Linked DNA regions of Homo sapiens: all the other regions are linked to region 2. The links are contacts of gene promoters, found by promoter capture Hi-C in blood cells and fetal thymus (Javierre and others, 2016). All regions are on one chromosome and are shown on one strand. The core of a region is centred on a gene start or on the middle of the fragment in contact, and the rest is flanking DNA. Distances in the headings are between cores, read along the strand shown.

What was found. Contacts are between HindIII fragments. The CHiCAGO score rates a contact against its expected background, and 5 or more counts as called.
Region 1: a contact is called between a fragment that was not itself captured here and the fragment with the promoter of H2BC6-AS1 in region 2, in 2 of 17 cell types (total B cells and naive B cells). The highest score is 5.6, in total B cells.
Region 3: a fragment that was not itself captured here is called in contact with the fragment with the promoter of H2BC6-AS1 in region 2 in 4 of 17 cell types (non-activated CD4 T cells, fetal thymus, naive CD8 T cells and 1 more); the score reaches 6.0 in non-activated CD4 T cells.

What each region holds. Positions count from the first base shown.
Region 1 is chr6:27,078,761-27,081,460 of GRCh38, reverse strand. No RefSeq gene overlaps it. Among named protein-coding and RNA genes, the nearest start is that of TRP-CGG2-1, 12 kb to the left of the region's middle. RefSeq lists a silencer at 2,626-2,700. The HindIII fragment of the contact is 979 bases long and covers 786-1,764 here.
Region 2 is chr6:26,171,482-26,174,181 of GRCh38, reverse strand. It overlaps H2BC6-AS1 (H2BC6 antisense RNA 1), which reads left to right and starts at 1,409. Exons shown (of 3, transcript NR_186648.1): 1 at 1,409-2,147. RefSeq lists an enhancer at 1,443-2,335. The HindIII fragment of the contact is 22,011 bases long and covers 1-2,700 here.
Region 3 is chr6:27,125,452-27,128,151 of GRCh38, reverse strand. No RefSeq gene overlaps it. Among named protein-coding and RNA genes, the nearest start is that of H2BC11, 6.0 kb to the left of the region's middle. RefSeq lists enhancers at 776-845, 1,056-1,105. The HindIII fragment of the contact is 5,241 bases long and covers 1-2,700 here.

The DNA.
Region 1 (2,700 bases), core at 26-2,525, 910 kb before region 2:
TCTTCTTATCTTTTTCTAGGGTTTCACAGTTTTCTGGCCCTCTCTTCATCTTCCCAAGGTTCCAAAGCTCTGATTCAGATTAGAGATTAGCTTCTGTAATACTAATAAGACACTTCCATTTTTTTGACTGAATAATAAGAAAAATATCAGAGGAAGGAAGGGTGACTGGTCTTCCAAGTTGTTTTTGGAATCATGATTGAAAACTATTTGAAAAAACATGCTTCACATTCAGATAGATGTGTAGTGCTCCATCCAGTTCTAATACCTAATAGCTTAGGCAGGTAAGGAAGTGCACCCATTTCAGCTCCAGTTTTCTCAACTGAAAATGAGATTAGTGCTCCCTGCTACATAATGCCAGGGTAAATTTACAGGGTTACATCAGGTTATACTTACTTATAGCCTGGCCAAAAATAAAAGTGGAAAATTTCTGAAGAGCAAGTATGATTTTTAATCATAATGATTGTTAATAGATGCTTCCATTAAACTGGCATATGGTTAATGAAGTTGACTTCTGTATATGATACAATATTATATATTGGATTAGGAGACTTTAAGGATGGATGCAGAAAGAAAACCTTCAAGATATACACACACACTCTCTCTATCTCTTTCTTAATGAATTAACTACTTAATAGGTAAAGACAAAGTTGGCCCACTTGCAAATCACAGAAATGCACCAAAAACGATATGAAGAAATTTGATGAAAGCTAATAATGCTGATAGAGTTATAATGCAGGTGAAAATGTAAGCCTAAAAATGAGTTTTTTCTAGAAACCTGAAAAGCTTTTTTATCTTTGTGATTTTTGGATGAAACCAAAGAGGGAACCTTATAGGAAGAACCACCCCGGACCTCTCTTACAGTACAAGATCCTGAACACTGGGACAAAGATGCTCAAGCATTTCTAGGGTCATCTTCTGGAAATGGTCCCCTTCATGTTTATGACCCCAGGTAAAGATTAGATGCAGAGTCAAGGTCCTCTGGCTCACATAAACTCCCTTGCTTAGTCAAAGAACAAAGCAAGATGCATACTTCTGAGGGAAATATTATATGGCATATGTGAATAAATAAAAGAATTGTCAGGTCTACTCACCTTGGTAGCTATGGTGTAGTAAAGCTCTGGGTTAGTCCTTCTGGCAAGGTAAGGCTCCCCAAGCCATGTTTGTGCCTTCTGGATTTGTAGAGTTCTTGGTTAACAAACTATTACCAGGACTCAAATTTTCAAAGTTGTTTTTCTGTCAGGAAGACGGAAACCCTCTGCAGGATCCTAGTCCCTGAAGTACATTTTCCCCTCTGTCTCCACAATTACGTTTGTTTGCCTCAGGAGTTATTTCAGTCTTAATTGGGGTTTAACTATTGCAATAGAAAGATGTACAGTGAAAAAGTAAACAGCTAGCCAAGTTTCTGTATCCAGGGTTTCCCATTTTTCTGGCCCTCTCTTCATCTTCCCAAGGTTCTAATGTTTTGAATAAAAATGAGAACCAGGTCAGAAGACACATAATAAGTCACTTCTTTTCTTTCTCAAGGCTTTCTTTATACGCAGGGTTATGATAGATGATGACCAGCCCTGGAGACTCTGCTTTCTGAGCTTATCCCAACCACAGGCCTGGACAGGACGAGCGTCACCTTGCTCTACCGATGAACGTTGGCAGTTTGCAGTCTTTGCCATCAGTGATTGTTTTATTCTTTGTCTGTGAAACAACAAATGGGACTGGAAAAGCAAAAGAACCCTCCATTTTTATGAGCTAATCCTGCCTTATAAAGCTTCATAATACTTCTTTAATTCATTATACCCAAGAATGATCCTTCTATAGGTTATTCATTCTGCCCTCAAAAAATGACCTTTCCAGACACTAATGCAAAGGACTATACATAAATGGTGACACAGGGTTGAGATTAGAGGTGAGAATGGAATTATTTTTCTCACTGAGCTGGGCTGTGAGGCAGGCTTCTGGTCACTGGTCTTCATTCAATGTGACAGTATCCTCATCTAGAGGTGCACCTGGTTCATATCAGATGCCAAATTACTTGTGCAATAAGTGAGCAAATAGCCCTTTGAGATAAGTACTCTTTTCATCCCTGATTTTGAATGAGGATATTCAGGCACAGAGAGATTGAGTAAATTGCCCAGTGATACACAGATAATGAATAGCAAAATCAGGATTTGAACCCAGATAATCTAATTCAGGTCATGTGTTCTATTGCCCATTGTTTTGCATGTGTCTTTCTGGGTCAGCCTCTCTTGCGATCTGTTTCACTGTCTAGGAGAGGTGGCTAACCCAGTCTCAGTATCAATCCCATCTTGCACAGACTCTGTCTCCATCTTTTTCTCTGCATCCTGGTTGTGTGTCCTTCAGCCTCTCCTTCTATTTGGAGTAATTGCCACATGGTGGCAGTGTTGTAGGACTTTCTCCTTAGTTCAGCTAAAAACCGGGTTCTTGTCACATAACCAGGAAAGATTAGGCTTGAGGATGCATAGAAGGGTGAGAAAAATGGAATTTATTGCGCGAAAAAGGAAAAAGAAATACTTTCAGCAGAGTGAGAGGGAGGCCTGTTAACCTGCTCCTGCCCCACCACACAGGAACACAAGAGGCTGGGCTCCTCCCCTCTGCAAACCACGCTAACTTCGTGGCTCCACCCCCTTTTCCCAGTGCACAGGTGGGTCGGAGGTTCTCTGGGGAGCCCTTTTTACTCGGCTGTCT
Region 2 (2,700 bases), core at 160-2,659:
AAAAATGGAAACCAGGAGAAATTGCAGAGACCATGTTATTTAAATAAATAGCTGATTATATAGGGTTTATTCTAAGAATAGAAGGAAGTTTAGTATTCTAAATCTGCCAGTTTAAGAAATTAATAAAGGAAGGCCCAGAGCAGTGGCTCACGCCTGTATTCCTAGCACTTTAGGAGGCTGAGGCAGGTGGATCACTTAATGTCAGGAGTTCAAGGCCAGCCTGGCCAATGGCGGCCTATCTTCTTCTGATAATACAAAACTTAGCCAGATGTGGTGGCACGCACCTGTAGTCCCTGTTACTTGGGAAAGTGAGGCAGAAGAATCGCTTGAACCTGGGAGGTAGAGGTTGTAATGAGCTTAGATCAGGGCACTGCACTCCAGCCTGGGAGACAGAGTGAGATTCCATCTCAAAATAAAAACTAAAATAATAAAAAATAAAATAAAATAAAATAAAATAAATAAAATAAAAAAGAGATTAATAAAGAAAAAACATGATCATCTCCAAAGATACTGCGAAAGCATTTAACAAAATATAACACTCTTTAATCATAAACACTTAACAGACTACAATGAGAAGAGAACTTCATAAGGAGGAGCTACAGCGAGTATAACACTTAATGGTGCCGTTTTGGAAGGATTCCCATAGAGGCGGAAGGAAGACAAGTGTGGTGAGAAAGTACTCCTATTCAACACGGCATCACAGGGTTTGGCCAATACCATGAGATAGGAACAGGCAGTCAGAAGAGCAAGGATTCAATAGGAAAAGATGATTATCTTTGAAAATAACATAATTGTCAAGGTAAAAGTTCACAAGAATCTATAAACAATTAGATCAAATAAGAATTGGAATTAGTGGGCATAGGCCAGGCGTTGTGGCTCACGCCTGTAATCCCAGCACTTTGGGAGGCCGAGGCGGGCGGATCACGAGGTCAGGAGATCGAGACCATCCTGGCTAACACGGTGAAACCCCGTCTCTACTAAAAAATACAAAAAAACTTAGTCGGGCGTGGTGACTGTAGTCCCAGCTACTCGGGAAGCTGAGGCAGGAGAATGGCGTGAACCCGGGAGGCAGAGCTTGCAGTGAGCCGAGACTGCGCCACTGTACTCCAGCCTGGGGGACAGAGCGAGACTCCGTTTCAAAAAAAAAAAAAAAAAAATTAAAGTCATATGAAGATTAATATGTAACATCTTCTTCGACTTAAATGTTCATTTTTTTCCTTCTGACTTTAGAAGAAATTAAAATATTTTCATGAGCCTCCAAAAGAACTGCGGACCCTAGACACCGTGCCTGCTGTTTAATGGAGTACGGCACTGCGTGTACCGGAAGATGATTTTTTTAAAAAAAAACTCAATTAGGAAATAATTATTCGCACACATTCATATACATACATACATACACTGAATCCTCACACGAAGAGCCCTACAGGCGTGAGAACAGTAAGGGAGATGCAAGAAAGGTCTCCTTGGAGTTGGGAGGCGTATTTACAGCTACTAGAGAAGGGGGAAGTGCCAGCTCCCCGAGAAGAAAGCAGGAGGATGCTGAGAGACTAAAGCTGAAATTTTCTGCCTGCTTCCTCACTCTTTTCGTTGGTTTCAGCCGTCTGAAAAACCCTTGTGAGAGGAGCAAAAAGGTCAAGGGAAGATTGTTGCCTTGCTCTCAGTCTTCAAAATTTTCGATCCTCCGTTTTTTTTGTTTTGAGACGCAGTCTCGCTCTGTCGCCTAGGCTGGAGTGCAGCGGCGCGATCTCGGTCACTGCAACCTCCGCCTCCCTGGTTCTAGCGATTCTTCTGCCTCAGCCTCCTGAGTAGCTGGGACTACAGGCGCGTGCCACCACACCCGGCTAATTTTTTTGTACTTTTGATAGGGACGGGGTCTCACGGTGTTAGCCAGGATGGTCTCTATCTCCTGAACTCGTGATCCGCCCGCCTCGGCCTCCCAAAGTGCTGGGATTACAGGCGTGAGCCACCGCGCCCGGCCGGTCCTCTGTTTTTAAACTGTAAAGGACTCCAGCGGATTGTTCGAAGTCTCCGATATCCCGCGATCTGGTGGCCGCAGAAGAAAGAGGCCGAGTCGGCGGGGACTGGGAACCACCAGTTAGCGGCCTACGGGCAACCTCCCGGACGCGCGCGCCGGGCCGACGTTAAACGTACGTGACGCCCTATGCGGGAGCCGGATGGGCGTAACGGGGCGGCGGCGTAACGTGTGGCTCTGTGGTTAGGGCACGGAGGGGCGTGGCCGGACGGCCCTATGAGGGGGCCGGCGTTTTTGGCGAGGGTTGATGGGATGACCCTATGAGGGAGCCTGCGTGGAGGGGCACGACCGGCCCCAAGACTCCTTTTCATGGCCGCATAGCCGCACCGGGAGTAGGATGACCGCTGTTATTTTTCAGGACCTCTCATCTTCGGTTTGAAATTCTTTGCTTTTTTCCGGCTTTGTGTGGCTATTTAGTATTAGCATTTTAGGGCAGTTTCATTTCCTTTAAAGTAAAACTCTCCAAAGTGGTCTCCGGACCAGCAGCATCAGCATCACCTGCATAATTTAGAAGTACAAATTATCAGGTCCTACCTCAGATCTAATGCATCAGAAAAGTTTTGTGACTGCTTCAAAACATTGTTTCCCTTAATTCAGATGCTGGAGGAGACCTTTCAAATGGCAGCTTAGCATAAGCTAACCAGTTTTTAACTTCAGGTTCATTACCA
Region 3 (2,700 bases), core at 11-2,510, 950 kb before region 2:
AACTCGCAAGGCAGAGGTTGCAATGAGCTGAAATCGTGCTACTGCACTCCAGCCTGGGCAACAGAGAGAGACTCTGTCTCAAAAAAAAAAAAAAAAAAAAAAGAAAGAAAACAAAATATTTTTTCCCCAACACTTTTCAAAGAATGGTTTAAAAGCAATGACAATCCATGATCAGTGAGAATTCCCACCCAGATTATGGTCTCAATTCCTTTTTCAAAGGGCAGTCAGGCTACTTGGAGACTTGGGTAAATCTATGGATTTTAATACATTCAAGAGGAACAGCAATCAAATGCCATATTTGGATCTGGTGGGATCTCATTCAGACAAAATATAAAAATATTTGAGACAATTCAGGATTTTCTTTCTTTAAGGGCTAGGTATTGGATAATGTTACACATCATTTTTTAAATTTTCTTAGGTGTAAAATCTTAGCGTTTTTTCTTTATATCCATATCTGTTAGGATATTTGTGAAAATATTCATGATTAAAATCACATATTTGGGATTTCATGTTTCAGATATTTTTTAGACTCCCTCATCTGTCAGTGTGGGTGCGGATAATGAAACAAAATGGGCAAGATGTTGGTAATTGTTGAAGCCTGTGCGACGAGACTTGGGAAGTGCAGGATTCTCTATATTTTTGTGTCTGCTTCAGGATGTCCATGACCACTCCCTTTCCCCTCCAAAAAAAAAGTTAAAAAAAAAAAAGCTGGCCAAATCAGTGAACATATTTCGTTTTTGGTCAACAAAGGGCTACCCTGAGAGGAATCTACATGCAGAGAAGTTCAGGAGACTGAACTAACGGAACGTCAGGAAGCGCTGCGGGCTGGAGAGCTGCTGTTGGAACAGGGAGGAGTTCTCCGGGCCGCACCCTGCCTCCGTCCCGCAGGCGAGTTGAGAAGCGCTATCGCCATCTTGTGGCGATAATGGATGGGATAATGTAGCTAAAACTTTGTTTAGTTTTATGAGTTGAGAAGGGCTGTCGCCATCTTATGGCAATAACGGATAGGCTAATGTAGCCAAAACTTTGTTTCGTTTTATGATTTCGATTAGGCATTTCATTGCTACGGTTTAATAATTGAATATACAAGAAATACTATAAACCATCACATCCCCAACAGCCCCCAGCCGCCCAGTTCCCCCATCTACTTGGCAAAGATTCTCTTTTTGACCAAACTCTAGGCGGCTTCTTCTGAGCCCTCTTCTGGACTAGGTGGCCACCTTGGTCTATAAAGACCTGAACAAACCCGAACATAGTTACTAATAGCCCCGGTCTTCTCAAGTGCCTGCCTGAGAAAACTCAATTGATGCCGCCAAAGGAATTTACTGTTTGTTTCAGTCAACGTCTGAAGATAGGGCCCTCGTCTCCCAGGCTCTGGTAGGAGTGGAGCCTGATTTTGATATGTGCCAGTTATGAAACCCAGATGGTTCCCCACTGTCAGTGGTTACTAAATAAAATCTGTTTTCGTCATTTAAAGTAAGGCCTGGTGTTTTATCTTTGATATACTACAATTAACCACTTTTATTCGTTTCCTGTGTACCTGTCTGGAATATCTTTATACAAACACAAATAAACAAATGTGTCCCCTTTCATTCACATTTGCCCCCTTTCATTCAAATGACTGATGGTCACATGTTCTTCACAGGTTCTGTCTCTTGCTTTTCTCATTAACTGTCTTTCTTATTGCAGGTGGAGTGGCTGAAACTTCTCAGCAGGCGCATCTACACTAGTGACCTGAGGAGAGAAACCCTAACCCCACAATGGCTGCATCTTCTCTGAAGACGAGACTGATGCTCATCTTTGAAATGAAGGGCAGTGTGTGCATTTCTCCATGAAGGTATCCAGAAACAGCCATGCCAGAGCTGCTGTGGGGTGGCTGAACTGCTATTCCTTTTCTAGGGTGGGATCCCCACTCTTTGTAAGGAAGGATATTGGGGTCCTGACACTGGGAACTCATCTTGTCAGTGAGGCCTTCTTTAACTGCTGTCTTGTAATTGAGCCACCCCATCTGTGTTTCCTGTTCCAATTTAGGACTTTTTTTTTTTTATCATAATATAAAGATCTGAAATGCTATGTTTTCCTTATTCATTGGCTTATTATCTTTACTATCCCATCCTCCACACTAAAAGTTTTTTCGAGCTGGATTTGGGAGTTGTGGGGTAGGTTATATTTTGATCACTTGTATTTCCCAGCTTCTAGAACAGTGCCCAGCAAAGTACTTCTCTGAATAAATGAATAAAGTAATATTCCTCTGCTCTGCTGTTGCCAACTGGAATATCCTGAGGGAAATTTCTTTACTTTCCTCAGGGGATGATCCAGAAGATGAAAAACAAATTGTCATTCCATATAGTCCTCTTCTGAGTGTTTTTCAGTTTTGTTAAAACTCAGATTTTTTCTTTTTACCTGAATGTTTTTTTGTTAATGATTATTAGCATATACAGTATTTTCTTTTATGTACCAAAAAAAGGCAATTGATACAGTGCATGACTTGAAAATATACCTGCCTTCTCTGAGGCTCAAATTCAGGACTGTATTATTTGGAAAGCCTTGTTGGGTTGTGGCTCCCAAGAAATCATACCTAATTTCCCTTCTTTGAGAGCACTGATTTCTGAGTTTCCATTTCTCCTAGAAGAGAAACATTGGCTTGTAAGAATTTATGTATCATCAATGCTTCCTTTTCCATCCTGCACTTAGAAGGAC